2 separate regions of the Homo sapiens genome follow, and region 1 is linked to region 2. The links are contacts of gene promoters, found by promoter capture Hi-C in human tissues and cell types (Jung and others, 2019). All regions are on one chromosome and are shown on one strand. The core of a region is centred on a gene start or on the middle of the fragment in contact, and the rest is flanking DNA. Distances in the headings are between cores, read along the strand shown.

The links. The method cuts DNA at HindIII sites, captures the fragments that hold promoters and counts their contacts. A contact is called where the count stands out against the background at its distance.
Region 1: a contact is called between a fragment that was not itself captured here and the fragment with the promoter of ALX1 in region 2, in 8 of the 25 tissues and cell types used here (H1 embryonic stem cells, adrenal gland, liver and 5 more).

What each region holds. Positions count from the first base shown.
Region 1 is chr12:85,238,557-85,244,983 of GRCh38, reverse strand. It overlaps LRRIQ1 (leucine rich repeats and IQ motif containing 1), which reads right to left. Exons shown (of 27, transcript NM_001079910.2): 27 at 1-195. The coding sequence ends at 43. Among named protein-coding and RNA genes, the nearest start is that of ALX1, 38 kb to the left of the region's middle. The HindIII fragment of the contact is 9,323 bases long and covers 1-6,427 here.
Region 2 is chr12:85,277,086-85,283,285 of GRCh38, reverse strand. It overlaps ALX1 (ALX homeobox 1), which reads right to left and starts at 3,066. Exons shown (of 4, transcript NM_006982.3): 1 at 2,799-3,066. The coding sequence starts at 3,024. RefSeq lists a silencer at 2,681-2,975. The HindIII fragment of the contact is 12,363 bases long and covers 1-6,200 here.

The sequences.
Region 1 (6,427 bases), core at 746-3,245, 37 kb after region 2:
AATGCTTGTTGGCATTAGGTTCCATCAATTCGTTTGTGATTTCTAAATTAATTTTGAAGGAAACCACAACTTACTTGAAGATCCTGCTGAGTGTCTGTGTGCCTGATTTTTTTTTTCTCTGTTCACAGACAAAGCACTTCCATTGGTCATGGAAAAAAGGTCTAAATCCGTGTCTTCTCTGCTTACAAGTCTTGCCTGGGAGCAATGGAAGAGAATGTATACAATCATGAAACAAAATATGGCATTTTCTGAATGCAGCTCACATTACCCCAAATAAACAAACAGGCTCTGTCAAACAACCTTCTTCAAAATGATACCACAATCCTTTATTGCTGCCCAGGCAGAACAAATGCACTATGTCAAAGCATTTTTTGCAAATAAGAGTCGATTGTAAAATTGAGGATTGCTATTTGAGTCTGTACAACAAAAGAAAACATTTTAGTACAGTAATTTTGATGAAAATCAATATCAAAGGTAGCTGATGAAACTTTAAAGAGCTTAACATTATTTATTTGCCAAGTATATTATTTAATTTTTAATTGAATGTTAGACATGTCATATGGGGTTATTTTTTGCAAAAATTATATGTTGCCACTTATATGTATTAGTCTTATCAATAAAATTCTCTGAAATGCCTTTCACCCTATGCTTGCATACAATTAAGCTACAGACCATCTTTACCTTCTCATTAAAGCCATTATCAATATAAAAATATATTTAATACTAATTTTGGGATAATTATAAATATATAGATATTTCAGGACATTATTTAATGAACATAAAAATTATTTATTTTATCTCAAATTGCCTTTGAATTTGTATTACTTAGACCGAATCTAAGTGCCAAAAATAATTGCTTCTTACCTATAAAACAGTGTTGTACATAATGTTGAATATCATTACATAAAGATACATTAGGATTCAGTTCTGAAATAGGGGGAAATGCCATGAGGGAAAGCAAAGCAGCCTCAGAGTAGCTGGGATTTAACCAAAACCACACTATGCTTGAAATCCTGTGAAAATGCATTGTTCTTAATGTTTGATGTTAGGAAAACTTAAATATAGCAAAATAAAAGCATAAAACCACCACTGTGGTTAAAAAGCTGTCTCCATAAGATGAGCCACAAAGACTCAAGGAGCTAGTATCCAAAAATGACCCTCTTTAAAATTCAGATATTTGCCCTTCACCTTTACATCCCCCTCCCACCTTCTTCCTACTTTTAAACATATGAACTTACATTTATTTATTTATTTTAATATACTTCTATTTTTCCAAATTTATTTATATTTTCCCTGTTTATTTGGTCTTAATTGACAAACAAAAATTGTATACATGTATCATGTACAACACAATGTTTTAAAATATATATATACACTGTGGAATGGCTAAATTGAGCAAATTAACATATGTATTGCCTCACATACTATTTTTAAGTAAGCAAGTATTGCTCTTGCTGAGTTCAGAATATAAACCATTGTATAATGTCAATCATTCTTAATGTAACTGGCTAAGTAATATAATGACATTGTCAAAAAACCTCGGTAGAAAACATTAAAATAAAATAAATAAAAATCGTTTCCAATTTATACTTGTGATTTATATGTGCACAGGTACCCTAAAACTTAAAGTATAATAATAATAATAATAATAATAATAATAATAATAATAAAAGTTATACATTATTTTTGAAATGTATTTCAATAGTATCCAAGAGTACATGTCTAACATTAGAATAGCTGCATTAGAAAAGTTCCATCAATGGTAAACCTTAAAAAAAAAAACAGTCAAAAGTTAAGGGGAAATATCAAAGCAATACCACAATTTTGGAGAGGCTACTTAGGTAACAAGAAAAAACATGTGAACCACATAAGGGACCCTCCTGAAGACTAAAGAGGCTTTAAGATTATAAGCCTTAATATTGTAAAATGAGGTTTATTTATTTAAATGTAATGACATAATTTCACTACACCTATTTAGAAAGTAGAATTCCCACTCTCCCCTAAATAAGACAAAACCTACAGTCAAGAAAATATTTGTAAATAAACACCTTCCAAAAAATTTATTATCATCTAAGTAATTAACATCCAAAGATGATTTTTTCCAAAGTAGAAAATAACTAGTGTCAGTTACTAATTTGGTCAATTACATAGGAAATAAACTTTAGAAGTAAAATTACTGGAAACACATGGCTTCACAATGATGCCATTTAGCAGCTTAAAAGCAAACCTAGAAATTTCATAAATGGGCTAGTTAAATGTCTTTCAGTGAATCTGGCACAGCGATATGCAACAATATTTAGATCTTATTTTTGAAAACATTGGCTTCCCAACTAAACATCATTCTCTGCTTAGTGTTAAAAAATAGAGAAATGGTAAAGAAGATACAGATTTTCTTCAATGTCATGTAAATTGTATATACAGTCGTTCCTCAGTATTTGTGGGGATTTGTTTCAGGACTTCCACAGATAACAAAATCCATGGATGCTCATGTCCCTTATATAAAATGGAGAATTATTTGCATATAACCTATGCATATTCTCCCTTCTATTTTAAATAATCTCTAGATTACTTCTAATACCTAAATAAATGTAAATGCTACATAAATAGTTGTTATACTCTATTGTTTTTTTATTTGTATCATTTTTATTGTTGTATTGTTATTTTTTGTTTGTTTGAATATTTTCAATCCAGAGTTGGTTGACAGATATGGAGGGCCAACTTAACCTGAAGATAACTGATCACACATTCGACATTTATTCTACAAAAACGTATGTTGGATTCCAAAATAGTGCAATATTTTTTATGGTTATAATATAATAATCTCAAGTTAATGTCAGATAAGAATTTTCTCACATACAACATAATGGCAAATACTTATTAGACTGTAATTTTGCAAAATTCTTTTAGGTCTTTGTTTTTGGAACGGATCTCTTTTATCGCCCTACCTACAAGGTTTGTAATTGCCGCTCTCCCCACTTCCGCCCTATAATTTCACAATGAAATGACGGATGTACATTTTGGGACAGGACTTTCCAAGCATTTGGATTCTGATTCACCTCCAACTTTGGCAACTTAATTAAAAAAGAGATTCTCTCTCATATATTAAACAAGAGGGATTTCCTCTTCTTCTACATTTTTTTCATAAACAAGATTTTATTAATTATTAATTTTAAAAGTATTGTCTTTTTGGAAGTGAAGATATACAAAACAGCACACATAAAAACAAATGTCTATGTACTTATTACCCAGATATTTCTTTATAAAGGGAGAAAGCGAGTTTTATAAAGATGAAGTCCCCTTACATGCTACTTTGTTTTTCTACATATGTATCAAACATTTTAGAGTATTATTTCAAAATTAACATAAATGATATATTTTCTGCTGCTTGCTTTTTTCACTGTACATTATATATGTGAGATCTAGATTTAGTTCATTTATTTTAACTGTTAGAATAATTTGCAAATTATGGCAAAATTACAATATATACTATAAATATATCACATAATTATTTGTAATATATCTAGACATATGAGTGATTTTAAAAGCTTTTTAACTTCATGTAAAGAAAATGAATTATGCATACTCCTAAATTCATAATACATCATCTTTTCATAAACTCCTTTTCTTATGTAATAAGACAGATGTCTTGTTATATAACATATGTGGGTAGGGAAGGCACTTTAAATATTTAAAAGACATAATGTACATGCCGTAAAGTGCAAAGACCTTAAACATGAAGTTCAACTCCCATAGAAGTTTAAAACTCCCATAGAAGTTACAAAATATAGCAATGAGTTCCCTATGCACCCTACACCCAGCATGCCTCAATGACAACATTTCACATAACCAAATCATGATCAACAAAACCAGAAAACTGACACTGTATCAATACTATTACTAAACTACTGACCTTATTAGGACTTCGCTAGCTTTCACATGCCCTAATTTTTTCTTGTTTGCAGTTCTATGACATTTTATCATATGTATAAATTATGCATACATATATGTATAGATTATGTATTGTATTAATATGTATAGATTCAACTATTATCACAATTAGGACACAAATCTATTCCGTCTTCCCAAAGAAACTCTGTTGTTCTCCTTTATAGTCACATCCTTTCCCCAATCTAAGCATGGCAACTAATCACGTTTTCTCTATTACTATAATTACGTGATGCTTAAGGATCTTATATTAATGAAATAATACAGCATGTAATCTTTTGAGATTAGCCCTTTTTAACTCAACATAATGTTCTTGAGATCGATGGAAATATTTGTATATGTCAACAGCTTTCTTGTTTATTGCTTTTTAATTGTGTGTTGTATATCCACTGTATGTATGTACCATCATTTCTTTATTATTTTACCCATTCAATGAGATTTGAGTTGTGTTAAGTTTTGGCTATTACAAATAACACTGCTATGAAAGTTTATGTACAGTTTTTTGTTTGAATGAAAGTCCACTTCTCTAGGAAAAATGCTCAAAGGAAGAATAATTAGGTCGTATGTTAAGTGTATATTTAACTTTATAAGAAGCTTATAAAGCTTCTGAATGTACCAGAGTCTTTACAAGCTTATAAAGCTTATAAAGTTTTTTTCTCCAGAGTGGCTGTACCATTTTCACCAGCAATGCATGAGAGATACAGTTGCTCTGCATACTTGTCAACATTTGATAATTTCAGTATTTTTTATTTTAACCACTTTAATGGGGTAGAGTGGTATTATATAGTGGCTTTAATTATTTCTCTAAGTGAACACGTTTTCATTTGCTTTTGACAGAAATAAAGAGTATGAATGTTTCTCCGATAATGTGGTTTGACTTTTCATTTCTGTTTATTTTCTGAATTGTGTCTTCGTAAGGGCAAATGCTTTTAAATATGAACTATAATTGATTTGTAACTTTTGGTTTAGGCTTTTTGCCTATGCCAGGTTTGTGGATGTATCTTACTGTTTTCTTCAATAGGTTTTATTTTTATTTATTTGATTATATTTTACTTTTTTTGGAGTCAGGGTCTTGCTCTGTTGCCCAGGCTGCAGTGCAGTGGTGTGATCTCAGTTCACTGCAAAGTCTGCCTCCCCGGTTCAAGGGATTCTTGTGTCCCAGCCTCCTGAGTAGCTGGGATTACAGGCACGTGCCACCATGCCCAGCTAATTTTTGTATTTTTGATAGAGATGGAGTTTCATCATGTTGACCAGGCTGGTCCCAAACTCCTGGCCTCAAATGATCCACCTGCCTGGGCCTCCCACAGTGCTGAAATTACAAGCGCGAGCCACCATGCCAGGCCTCTTCAATAGGTTTTACAATTTTGGCTTTTAAATTTAGGCTCATAGTTCATCTTAATTTCATTTTTCATAAGATGAGAAGTAGGAGTCAAGATTCTTTTTCCATATAGTTATCTAGTTGTCCAGCACTATGTGTAGAAAGGGTTATCTTTCCCCCCCTTGAATTGTTTTGATACTTTATAAAAAATCAATTGACCTTACAAGTGTGGGTATTTTTCTGGACTCCCTATACTTTCCATTGATAGATTCTTGTATCTTAACACATATATAAATATATATACATACATATATGTGTGTGTATATATATACACGTGTGTGTGTGTGTGTGTGTGTGTGTGTGTATAAAACAGTTTCAATTACCGGGGATTGATAGCAAGTCTTGAATTCTGTGTAGCACGAGTCTTACTATTCTTTTTTCAAGATTGCATTTGCTATTCTAGGTCCTTTCCATTTCCATACACAGTTTAATATCAGTGTGTACATTTCTACCAAAAATTTTACTGGGATTGCTTTGAATCTACAGAACATTTGGGGAGAATTAATTTCTTACAATTTGAGTTTTTCAACTTATTTATAAATATGGTATGTCTCTGAAATTTTTTAAAGCAGTGTTTTGCAGTTATGAGTGTAGAGGGCTTGCACATTTCAATGTTAACATTTATTTTTAAATATTTTCCATTTTTGACATTGTCATGAATGAAATTTTTAAATTTAATTTTTAAACTTTATTGCTAATATTTAGAAACGTAGCATATTTTAAATTAAACTTTATTGTGTGTCCTTGAATAAATTCACTTATGTCTAAACTGTTTGTGAGGATTTCTTAAGACTTTTATGTACAAGAAGATGTCATCTGTGAAAATCAGATGGTTTTCTTTTCCAATCAGATTTTCTTGCCTTGTTCCTGATATTAGATACAAAACATTGGGCCTTTAACCACTAAGTATATCAAGTTAAGAAAGTGTCTTCTAGTCCTAATTTTCTATGAATTTTTACCACAAATCTGTTGAATTCGTGGTAAACATTTTCTGCATATATTGAGATAATGATTGTTTTCCTTTTTATGTTAATGTGGTAAATTACAATTCTATTTTTACTAGATATAGAATTGAAGGTTGACATTTTTTTCTTCCACTTTCTT
Region 2 (6,200 bases), core at 1,817-4,316:
GAATTAAAAGATGATCTGGGTGTTTCATGAAAGAAACTTTAAGTGTCCATGATTTTTGAAAACTGAAGCAAATTTAATGTCATGTGTTTTATTCACAGCAGATAAAACCAAGCTACTAATGTGGCTCAGAAAATATATTTTAATCTTAAATAATACCTCTGTACTAATATCTGAAAGTTATTATCCTCCTCCACGTAAAACGTACTGATGATAGATTTCAGATGTGACATTATTTCCACTAAATTTTGAATATTTCAACTTTATATCCATGTCTGCATTTACACTTTTTCTTCAAAAATAATCTACTAAATTGACAAAATAAATTTCATGCCAAATTTTGAATACGCTTTCTATCGGAAATTAGATTTAAGCAGCATTTTTTTTTTTTACCTAAAAACTTACGCAGTTCTTTTTAAAACATTTCATATTTCTGCTTAGCTAGTTAGATAAGTTTTGGGATTGAAAACTTTTCTATTTTCTCTGCTGAAACACAGAAATTAAAACAGCTATTAAAACATTACAGAGCATGACATCTGGCATTCTGTTAAGGGATGTTTAATTTCAGTAATTTTCTTCAGATTTGATTGCATGCTTGCAGTGTGATATAAAACAAAGATATATCATATAATGCCAAACACCCACAAATGCAATGGATGCACATAGTGAAATGGGAAGCACTTTTTAAAAAGTAAAGTCAAACCAGCCAGAATAATAATTTCCAATAGATGATCATACTTTTTTCATTTGTTTCTTTTTTTAAAATTACCCCCATAATGTATTTTTACAACTCTTTTCATCATTATACAAATATATTCAAGTTTAATGCGCATATAACTTCAATAGCTAATAATTGAGTACTGTGCATTTCAATGTCACTAACGGAGTAACTCTCAAAAATGTTCTCATAATAAAAAATGTCAAATATTTGAGGTGATGGCCAATTAACGTAATTTAATCATTCCACATTGCATTAAAAAAACTTAACATTACTTTGTACCCCATAAATATATACAACTATAATTTGTCTATATATATATATAACAAATTTTTTAAATTAACGGTTTTCATGCAAACGAAGATGTGATGTTAAACCAAATATAAAGAAGAGCCATGACTGATTAACAAACGGTTCTATCTCCTTGGGCAAAATTAAAGGGGGAACTGCAGCAATTAGGGATGGGGGAGGGGAAGCATCAGAGAGGCTAAGGGCATCTCAAGAGAAAGACAGGATCTCTCCTAAATTAAGCGGATGACTGCCTATGTTCATCTTCCTTAACACTTCTTTGTTATAATTCATCTTAATAGTGTGATATTTGTTTAAAAGTTGATAACGCATCAATTATGTCTCTTATTTTGGATTCTCGACTATTCAAAATAAAATATTATGATCAAGTCCATCCAGAGTCAATACAAGACATTGCAGAATCATTAAAGAAAGACCTGTCAATTCAAATAACGTTAGGCATGCACCTAAGAATTCCACAAATACAGATACCAGGTCTGAAACGCAGCCAGAAAACCAACAACTCAGTGTAAGAATAACAAAAAGTATACGCTCGAATCTTTCTAAATAAATGACTGAAACGACTTAGCTGATTATTTTCTCTATCATTTGCACCTTTATTTTTGATTTACCCTTAGTCAAAAGTTACTTGCAACGTTAAATAAAATTAGTTAAATATGAGATTAATAAAAGAAAAAAACTTGTGTTCAAAATATTTAGAAAATGAGCTTCTACAGGCCAGTGTTTTGTCAGATTTTGAATTTCTATAAAATAGGGGGCAGGGGGCTTGTTGTAAATATTTCACACTTAATTCGTTTGTTATTTTAAAGCAACCCGCCCCTTATAGCTTAACTGTGGAATATATACAATGATAAGGAGAAGTTCTCTTGGAATTGTAAACGTGCTTTAGCTGTCGCGATCTGAAATAATAGGTTAGTATTAGGTTACAAGATAGAAAAGATAGATGGTTTGTTTTGATAACATTTTGACTTGGAGATACTTGGGCATTCAAAGTTGAAGATTTCACCCAGAAGCATTCCAAAGACTCCTTAGGTGACTTTTAATGTGAAGTCATAAAAATACAAAACGTAGAATCTGGGAATGAGTGATTAGGCCGGGGATGGTTTGCCCGAAGCTATTTAGTGTGCTTTAGTGTTTAACAAACATTCAACGCGTGTTGTATTGCAAACGCAAAAAAAAGCAGAAATTACAAATTCACACACGCTAGAAATCTAGGGATCCTCAAACTTTGAAAATATATCGCCACGTCTTGGAAAATTAAAAAGATTTATCTTTACCTAAAGGAGCTCAAAGGGTTTTTTGTTTTTTGTTTTTGTTTTCCGGTTTTTTTTTCCCTACTCGTGACGACAGTGACGTACTCTAACGAGCTGTGATCGATTTCAGTTCCTACCGCCCGGACTGCAAGGCGGGCTCGCAGAGGAAGCGTTCTGTCTTGACTCAATTACGCTCTATTTAGCGCCCTATCAGTTTACTCCAGGAACCAATATTACAGAAGGACTCAGGGATCCGTAGGCGACCAGACCCTACAGCGAAAGGAGAATCGCTCAGAGGCAACCCGGTGCTGGATCTCTCCCTCCCTCCGCCCTCCGCCCCCAAAGGCTGCAGCAGCAGTAACACCGCTTCATAAAGCGAGCACCTTCCACTACCTTCCTCCACCTTCCAGGTCCCTCGCTCCCACTTTTCTCCTTTCTCCCTCCCTGCCTGATCAGACCGATCCTGCATTTTCGATTGCGGAAGGGCTGCGGCGGCTCCGGCTGGGGCGCTAGCGACTCACCGCTGCTGTCCTGACAGGGCGAGGTCCTCTCCAAGCGCACGTGATGCTCGGCGCGGGGCAGGGGTCCGAAGGCCTGCACGCATTTGCCTGCAGACGCTTTGCTGTAAAAGGACTCATTGTCCAGCGTCTCCATAACGTGCTCCAGAGGACCTCCTGCGCCCATGTAAAAGTCACTGTTTTTACTCGGAGGGCTCTTGAGGGCAAACTTCTCGCTCAGAAACTCCATAATCCTGGAAGACTGTCGCGTAGCTCCTGGGGCACAGAAACTGGAGAGCGCTGGGGGAGGGAGCCAGTGGGTGGGAGGAGGGAGGGCCAGAGAGGAGGGAAGGGAAAGCGAGCGCTGCGGCGTCGGGAACTGCCCCGCTCCGGTCCCTTTAATACGTCCCGGCTGGAAAAGGAGCACCCGAAGTTGCTTTTATATCTTGAAACTCAGCTGGCCTCCTCGGGCAGCCTCCCAGTTCTAATGAATATGAAAATAGGCGGGCGACTAACTCCACCCCAGGTCCCCCTCCGCCCCTACCCCACCCCCATTTTCCCCACTTACCCGGGCAGAGGGCGTCCAGGCCTAGGATAGACAGACAGACAGCTCCATTTCAGACAAATGCCAGGAGAGACGAGCCCCTGACACCCAGATTCATTGCCGCCGTGACAGTGGACTGGCATTTCGGAAGATCTTGGTGAGATCGCAAAGCAGTTAAACCTCCACTCCCTACTGCCTGCGCCTTCCTGAGCCACCCGTCCCCACCCCGCCCCCATGCCGGCCACTCACTACCAGAAAGATTTAGAGGCGTCTTAAGAACTTGAAAGGAAATATTGCTCTAAAAGGCTTTTATTTCATCCGTAAATCGTTTACGTGGAAGATTCACATTAATCCGAAGCCCAAGGAACCAGATGCATTGGCAACTGTTAATCGCAGCCGCCGTAGTAGAGGGGCCGCTTCGGCTTCTAACCGGGAGGAGCTCGGGGTCCGGGCCAGCTGGGAGCTTTACGAGGCCGTGGCCTTTTCTTTTTCTCTGGAATGCGGCGGAGTGTGGACGCGGTGGCGATGGGTGGGAGAGAGAAGCCGAGCAAGAGGCAATGAAGCCATTATACTAATGCCAACCAATTCCCTACACCCTCTTCGCCACCCTTCCCTTTGGTCCACGATTTTATCATTAGACCCAAATTATTTTAAGAAAACCCGTTAGGATCAGTGCCTTTGAAAGGCTTTTACTCTAATGCCAAAGTGAGGATTGTTACAAATAGGGGTTTATGAAGAAGAGGAATGTCTGCATATTTTTACAGAAATTACTTTTAATTTTAAAGAGTTGCTGTGGAGTTACTCCGAAAAGCGCTCTGGGAGTGAGTGGTGAGCGCGCGGAGCTGCGGGCACTCGCGGCGCGGCGTCCTGGGCGCGGACAGGTCCAAGGCCTCCATTTCCACCAGAGGGGATGGTAGGGCAGGCAGGACAGCACTGCTAGGTTGAAAGCCCTTCTGTGTGACTTTTGGCACGACTCTTGGCTTCCTAGGAGCCCGCGGCGCTTGGGGGAAATGCGTTCGGTGCCCTGGGCACAAAATCGCATTTGCGTCAGGCACCCTAAGCTAGCAAATTTGGTGAAAATAAGCCAGACAGGTTTTGGTCCAGGTAGGCCTCTGCTTAGACGTCCTGACACAGCCTTTGTCAACACTGGCACTCACAGCGGCCGTCGCGTTTCCCCAGACAAGTCTGGCAATTATGGTGAGGCCTCGGGCAGGCCGAGCAGCCCGGACTCTGAGGATGGTGAGGCCAAGCCCAGCTGTGGTGGGCATGCTGATGGGTTTGAGAGTTTCCACCTTCTGCGGGGGTCTTAGCTGACCCACGCCTCTTTGGTGAGACCTTCTTCGAGACCTGACCAGGCCTCAGCCAGAGAGTAACAATCAGGGAGGGCTGTGCACCCCGGAGCTGCTCCTTAGCGTTGCGCGAAAGGCAGGGTCGGCCTTAAGCACCCAGATCCGACCGGCGGATCCCGAGCAGATCAGCTGGCAGCAGCAGCCTTGCTCGCCCGGCCAAAGTCCAACCCAGACTGTTCTCCCAAGGAGGCGCACAAGCTTAGTTCACATGGCGCAGCGCTCAGTGTGGCCTTGAGCGCGCACTCAGATTCAGGCAAGTGGACACTATTCCTGGGACTAACTAGCTTCTGCTGTATTATTATTACTCTCTCCAGAGCAGTGCTGCAAGAACCAACTGCAGATTGTTAAATTTCAGGGGAGCAAGGTCAAAGAAAAGCACTAGGGACTGAGCTTCAGCAGGAAGCCAGGCTGCGTCGGGCCGCAGGAACTCCAAACCAGACAACCTGGCATTCTGAGGTCAGGCCCAGGGGGAGAGAGTGAGGTGTCGGAAGAAGCCATTGAAACGCTCTTCTTAAAGTGTCCTGTAGCATCCCGACCTTGCGTGAGCAGTAGCCTCAGCTCTGCGTTCTTTGGACACTTTCCAGCGGGCCCCCGGGCAGCCTTGTGGAAACGTTGAGTGTTGCGTTATTCACTCACTCCTGTTGGGTTAGCCATTTTCGATTCTTTCCTATCCCCTTCGGTACCTTCTTATTTTCAGGTATCCTGAAAGTCTGACTTTCTCTACTAAACACGGGAAAGATAAGAAAATGGTCGTTTAATATGTTTTACAAAAATTCACAGCAGCAACAACAACACCTATTGCTGACTTGAGGAAATATACAAACTAGTTATCAACCAAGTTATCTTGTAGAGCTCTGTCAGCTTGTTTATAAATATATGTCTTAAAAGCCCTAAATTTCCGGAAAAACATTACGTGTCTTTTAAATGAAAGACATGTGATACAAGTTCTAGGATACTTGTATGCCAATAAAGGTCCAACTCATAGAGAAAAGTACAGCGTAGCCAAGGACAAGAGCTGTCTAGTAAACCCGTTTCTGCCCCATTACCAAAACTCACTTTTGATGGTAATGGTTGAAGGGGTGGGGTGTAAGGTGTCACCAAACCAACATAATATCCCTGGAGCTCCCTGGAAACTCAAATATACTACACAGAATCCCGTGTGTTTTGTGACATGTAACCACATGTGCCCATAACAGAGGAAACAGCTAATGGCAAACTCCCATAACGAATGTTTAATCTGCAGTTTTTGGCAAGAAGCTGGGTATTTGGTTGCCAACAGCTGCATTACATGAATTTTGAGAGGTTGAGATGGAGTTTATGGTTATGACACAGCTCTAGAGATAGGGGCATTAATAATACATTGAAAATAATACTAATCAAAACAATAATAATTCAATAATTTCTAAAAGTCACAAGAAGGGAGAAGAAATTACATTGGAGATGGTCTCACTTTCCCTGAGATCTACCTGGGCTTTTTCCACCAATGCTTTTAGGATAGCCTTCTTGGAAATTGGCCACAGTACTTTGATAAAT